Linked DNA regions of Homo sapiens: region 2 is linked to region 1. The links are contacts of gene promoters, found by promoter capture Hi-C in blood cells and fetal thymus (Javierre and others, 2016). All regions are on one chromosome and are shown on one strand. The core of a region is centred on a gene start or on the middle of the fragment in contact, and the rest is flanking DNA. Distances in the headings are between cores, read along the strand shown. Region 1 holds the start of LRMDA (leucine rich melanocyte differentiation associated). Region 2 overlaps LRMDA (leucine rich melanocyte differentiation associated).

Region 1 (3,094 bases), core at 551-3,050:
CGGGAGAGCTGGGACAGGTGGCTGAAGAGGTAAGAATTGATGGGATTATAAGAGATCTTCAGGGACATACTAAAGATTCTGGACTGTATTAATTATTACTTGATTAGGAGCCATTGAAAGATTTTAGGTAGGATCTAATTGGGCTTTTAAAATGGTTGCCCTGGGGCTATGTGGAGGAGGCAACAGTAGTGAGAGGGTGTGGAAAGGGGGAAAGATGCCAGCCCACTTTGGTGACATTGGTAGTGTCTGCAGAACAGCCTATGCTCAGATGACCCAGCTGTGTATGGAGGCAGGGGGATGGATGAGATGACCTTCAGTAACCCCCTTCTGGTGGGGGAAGGGAGAGCCGTTCTCCAATCTCATCTTTGAGTCAGCTTGGGCCTGTTTCCACAAGTCCTCTTCCATCTGTCAAAGCCCTTCTAGGAAAGCTGAGCTGAAAGGCAGCTGCGGAGGGCAGAGTGCTGGCTGGGTCCGGGCTCACTTCCTCCTTTTCAGGCAGGAAAAGCAGACAAAAGTGCACAATGGACCAGAGAGGGCGCGTCCAGCAGAGAAGGAGGGAGAAGGCGGGGGAGCTGGTCCTTGGGGCAACAGGCCTGGGAAGGTTCCCTTTGATCCCCTTATCTCTGGAGGGTAAGCTTTCTTTTTTGGCCTGCAGGACCTTTTGTTGCAGCATTTCCTGGAATCCCCCAAAGTAAACACAGTCAAGACTGCATTCTTACTGCTCTACTCTTCTGAGCCTGCTCCTCCCAGCTGAGAGAGGGGCAGGAAGGTCAACCCTCCGAGATCAACACTGCTCATCAAAATGCTGACAAGGGCCCACCTAACAATGTGTTAGGACCGGGGCTGTCTGAGAGACGATGCCAGTTAAGGCTGGGCTGGCTCTTAGCTGCAGCAAGAGTGGAAGATGACAACCAGTTGATATCTGGTAGCTCTGTGCATCCTGGACTTGGAGGCAAGAATAGGCAAGGAGAAAATCTGGATCCTTCCAGAGAATTTCAGAGAAAAACAGGCATGGGTTTAGGGAGTTACCTGCCCACTGGGCCTACTTTCATCCAGACAGGAGGCCCGTGGCCAGCTCTTCCAGGTGGGGATGGGGTGGGTGGGGAACAGCGAATAACCCCACTGATAACTTCAAGCCTCACAAATCTCTTGCCCTCTGAGGAGCAGGAGAAGAGAAGCCTGAAATTTGGGGTCACCAGCCAATTATCCTTCCCCAGGGTTTATTATTGTCAACTCTTAGAGGCCACAGGGAAAGGGTGGGGTGGTCTTCACCAAGCCAGCGTTTTATTTATAGGGAAATTCAACCCCCCCAATCCCCCTCCCCTCCTACAAATGGAAACTGGGCCGCACCAGGAGTCCTTCAACCTTCTAACTTTCCCTCTCCCCAGCTTTGATGAGGAGGGGCGTTCAGCCAAGAGGCCCCTCCTCGCTGCAGTTGAGGTCCATTATGTAACCCAGCTTGCGAAATGCAGGAAAGGCCCGGCTGGCTACAGCCCGGCTAACGGCTCAGAAAGGGCGCCCCTGATAGGAATACCCCCACCTCAGGCGTGGCCCAGACAAACGCGATAAAGCTGTGGGCATGGAGTTTTGGGCATTGGGACATCCGGGGGAGGGAGGGGCGCGGGCAGTCGGGGTCAGGCCGCCGTCGGGGCGCGGGGCGCTGCGGGCCACCTGTTGCAGCGGGCGGCCAGGGCTCACCTGCGCGGAGACCGGGCCGAGGGGCGGCGGCGGCGAGCGGCGGAGCTGAGGTCCCCGAGGCTAGCCCGCGCCTCCGGCTTCCGCCGGGTCAGCTGACTGCCCAGTGCGGAACTGTGCGCCCGCCGCGCTCCCCTGCCGCGCTCCCCGCTGCTGCCGCCGCGCCCCCGCGCTCCGTCCCGCGCGCCCGCAGCGTCCTGGCCGCCATGGCCGGGCTCGTGGTGCGTGGAACTCAAGTAAGTCCCGGCCAGCCCCGCCTCCGCCCGGGGCGCAGTCCGCGTGGGGAGGGACAGCGGGGCACAGAGGCTCCCCAGGGCCTAGACACCCCTGTCCCCGCCTCAGGGGGCTGCGTCTGCAGGGGGTGAGCTTCAGGTGCTCAGGCTCGCCCTAGTGGGGCTAGGACAGACCTCGTTTCGGGCCTGGCACACCCCCTTGATGTGCGGGAAGAACACCCGCAAGGTCTCCCGTTCTCCCCACTTCCTTCTGCCCTTAGCGCCTCACTGAGCAGGCCCAGCGGACACAGTGCTGACGGCCCCCGCTGCTTTTGGGGGCCCACAGAAAATGTTCCAATTTCATAATCTGAATTTTAAAAACTTTTGGTCAAAGAATCCATTTTGATAAATCACATTGATATAGTCATCTTTATACCAATGCAGTTGTAATATACAAATTTACTTATTTGTAAATGGAGGAAGGGGTTTATGAAGGCAAAAGTGTCTAGGGTACCCAAAGTCCCAGCACATCCCTGGAGATGAGGGTGCTGGTGGGCCCTGCGCTGAATGGGCTACGCCATAGCCAAAGGCTGATGGAAGGCCACCGACCTCCAGTTCTCTTTCCACACTCGATTTCTTGAACAGGAGTCTGTGATGAATGGCAACACGCCAGTTTCAATCCTGGGTGCCAGACACCCAGTCTCACATGCTTTGAGCTCTGTAGTGAAGCCTCAGGTGTTCATTGTTGGAGGGATGAACCCAGCCACTCTGGGACCAGGTGTCTTTCTTACCTGCTGGAAAAGCCAGTTCTCTGTCTTTAACCTCTTCTCTGCTCTGATGAAGCCAGAGCCCTCTTACTTCCCACCTTTCCCTGCACACCCTGGAGAAATAGTTCTGAGTTTTTGAAGCTCTCCTCTTGGATTGCCTAAGGCAGGTAGTGTCAGGCACAATTGGATTTTGAGATTACTTTGGGCTGAAGGGAATGATTCCTCCTTAGAGGAGATTCTAGGGGTTTTTACAGCTCCTACAGATGCAGTGAGGGCCAACTGTGCAGCCCATTAAACTAGCCGCTGCCTGTTTTCTTTTTTTCCAGAGTCCTGTCGTTTCATCAGGTACACATGTTTATTGAGTGCCTACTGTATGCCAGGCACCATGCCAGGTGTTGTTGGAAATTAGCCTTTCCTTTG
Region 2 (3,088 bases), core at 486-2,985, 220 kb after region 1:
TTTGTTCAGTTCTTTTGGGTGTATACCCAGAAGAGGAATTGCTGGGTCATATTATATTTCTCATTCTTTGAGGAACTGCCATATTGTTTTTTATAGCAGCTGCACAACTTTCCGATTTCTCTACATCCTTGCCAACTCTTCTTTTTGTTTGGGTGTGTGTGATGATGGCCATCTCAGTGAGTATGAGTAGCATCTCATGTGGCTTTTATTTGTATTTCCCTAATGATTAGTCATATTGAATGCCTTTACATGTACTTATTGGCCATATGCATATGTTTTTGGAGAACTGTCTATTCAAGTCCTTTGCCCATTTTTGAATTGAGTCTTCTTTTGTTGATGTTATTGTTGAGCATTAGGACTTCTATTTTGAGTATTAATCCCTTATCAGATATGTGATTTGCAAATATATTTTCTCATTCCATAGGTTGCCTTTGTACTCTGTTGATAGTGTCCTTTGATGTGCAAGATTTTAGTTGATGAAGTCTAGTTTGTCTATTTTCTTTCTTTTGTTGCCTGTGCTTTTGGTGTCATATCCAAGAAATCATTGCCAAATCCAGTGTCATGAAGCTTTCCCCCTATGTTTTCTTCTAAAAGTTTTATCGTTTTCATTCTTAAATGCTCAGTTATTTGATCCATTTTGAGCTAATTTTTGTAGATAGTGTTAGGTAAGGGTCCAACTCACTTTTTTGGCATGTGGATGTCCAGTTTTCCAGCACAATTTGTTGTAAAGACTGTCTTAGTAACCTTGTCAAAATCATTTGACCATCTATGCAAGAGTTATTTCTAGGTTCTCTATTCTTTTAATAACAAAATTATTTTTTGTCTCCCCCATTAAATTATTGACTTTTTTTTTTCATGATAAGGTTGAGAGATAGCAGAATTTAAACATTTAGACCGCTAGATAGGAGTTGCAATGCAGGGTCTACTCTTGGCTCTGACCCTGGAACAGGTCACAACCACAATTCTTTGCCTCTCTGCCCAACTTTTGAAAAGGAAAGGTGATAGTATTGGCGATTTTAAAGTCAACAGAGAAAACAGACTTGGAATGGTCTTTCAAGTCTTTAAAAGGAAAGGGAGGGAGGGCCCTTTTCTAACTGGAAGGCTCAGATTTCTGGTGAGTGTGAGGGCCACCATCTTCCTGACCCTCAGATGACCCTTCTTCCTGCAGTCCCATGACTAAACTGGAGGTCAGCACCGGGGTGAGGATGCGGTCAAAGGATGAGCCCCCATGGTGGGCAAACAGGGCCAGAGAGAACTCTCATCAGCATTATAGATGGTCGCCCCAGCATCAAAGGGCAGCCTACTCTCTCCTCAGGTCAGGGAAGCCTCTTTGTGTCATTCACATTGTTGTGAAAAGAGAAAAAAAACACTTGGCCCAAAATGTTCTCTCCACCATTTTCTACCTGATCTTCTCTGTCTTTTTCTCTCCTGACATTCTTCTCTGTTAGCCCTAGAAAGGCCCGTGTCTTCCTTCTTTCTTGCCTTGTGTATATTTTCACAGTGAGGTTTCTGTACTCTGTGTGCTGTTATGCCAAAATGTTGCTGTATGGCAAGAGACAGGATATATCCCTAAGCACCAATCATGTATACCTCATCTACCAGTGAGCTGTGAGGTAAATCCATGAGTCCCGAAACCTGGGCTCAAGAAGAAAGCTGCTTCCATGCTCTAGGATCTGGGCAGAAAATGTGATTCTAAAGGGTTATGTTTGAGGGTATCGCTCAGCCCTGAAGACTGTGCACACTGTCATAAGCCCTTGGATACTCTCCCACTTAGGGATTTCTGTGCATTTCAGTCTTCTTAGGCTGCAGCTGGAAGTCAATAGGAAGTGTTGTGGTCTCTCACAACAAGCTCATTTATTCATCCATTCTCTGGACACTCAAGGAAAAATATTAGCTCCTCTTAGGATCTGTGTATAAGCCAAATCATGTTGGCTTAGGCGTACTAGGAGGAGATTTTCAAGCTGTGTTAGAAGAGGGAATATAGTCACCTTTATCTTTCCAAGTTATCTGTCAGTTGAGAGCCATGCTGCTGTTAACAGCACCTCCCGGTGGCCCAAAAGGAAGGCATAAGGACCCAGCCAATCTTGCTTAGGCTTTTATGGGAAGAGTCTTTTGTAGGCCTTGGTGACTGAGCACATTGAGCTATATGATGGTGGGTTTTTTACATTGTATAGGGTTTTGATGAAAGATATGGTATGAGCCCCTAAAGCACTTAAGGGTACCAATAGACTTGACACTTCTCCACTTCCATCACACAGTATTGCTATGAAAATGCAATCAATCCAGTTCCTGACATCTTTTCTACCCCACTCTCAAGAGCACCTACTGTATCAACATGACATTTTAAAATCTTGGCTTGTTTTCCAGGCCATGAATTTAATTTCTCATTGCTTCACCATTTGGCTTTTATGTTCTCAAAGCGAAATGTTGTCCAACAATAGTTACCACCATCTTGTTAGTCAGGTCCTCTTTCCTGGGCATCCTAAAACCAGATAATTTTAAAAAATTCATTGCAGCCATGGGCACTCAGCCTTGTGCTAATAGCCACCAAGTTCTGACAAAGCAAGTCCGACATCCCTCGATAAGTAAAATCCAAACCTCCTGACGTTGTGTAACAGTAAGCAGATTGGCATGTCTTTGGATTAGTGGAGGCACTGAAGCAAAATGCTCAATCCTTAGTGACCTTTGGCAAATGGATGGGGATGTGTAGCCATTGTAGGTTATCTTTATGTTCACTGTGTAGACACTCAGCCTCTGCCAGGCCAAGACAGAAGCTGTCAGGGCAGATAAACTTAGTTGGGAACTAGCTGTTTTTCTGACTATATCACAGTGCTTTGCAGAACTATTTTGTCTGATAAACTGCTTCTTCTTTAAACTTGTCTGTGAATAGTTCTGTGAAGCATTAAGCTTTCCCTCTTGGGTTTTGAGCTGCCTGTACTTTGTTTTAATCTTTGGGTCTAGAACTGACTTTCTCATAAAATGTACAGTCCACTGTCCTCGGCTGCAGTGTCTTCCGGTGAGTTCCTTTGAGGGAGTCAGTGGGAGATGCCATATCTGGGTCTATCAGACATGTATTCTGGGGGATGTG

The links. The method cuts DNA at HindIII sites, captures the fragments that hold promoters and counts their contacts. A CHiCAGO score of 5 or more calls a contact.
Region 2: a fragment that was not itself captured here is called in contact with the fragment with the promoter of LRMDA in region 1 in 1 of 17 cell types (M2 macrophages); the score reaches 6.2 in M2 macrophages.

The regions. Positions count from the first base shown.
Region 1 is chr10:75,429,824-75,432,917 of GRCh38, forward strand. LRMDA (leucine rich melanocyte differentiation associated) reads left to right here and starts at 1,801. Exons shown (of 7, transcript NM_001305581.2): 1 at 1,801-1,931. The coding sequence starts at 1,902. It overlaps LOC107984293 (a long non-coding RNA gene), which reads right to left and starts at 1,787. Exons shown (of 2, transcript XR_001747703.2): 1 at 1,699-1,787; 2 at 1-487. RefSeq lists enhancers at 1,609-2,109, 2,110-2,610 and a silencer at 1,751-1,850. The HindIII fragment of the contact is 4,872 bases long and covers 634-3,094 here.
Region 2 is chr10:75,649,643-75,652,730 of GRCh38, forward strand. All of the region lies in intron 2 of LRMDA (leucine rich melanocyte differentiation associated), which reads left to right. Among named protein-coding and RNA genes, the nearest start is that of MIR606, 99 kb to the left of the region's middle. The HindIII fragment of the contact is 2,340 bases long and covers 566-2,905 here.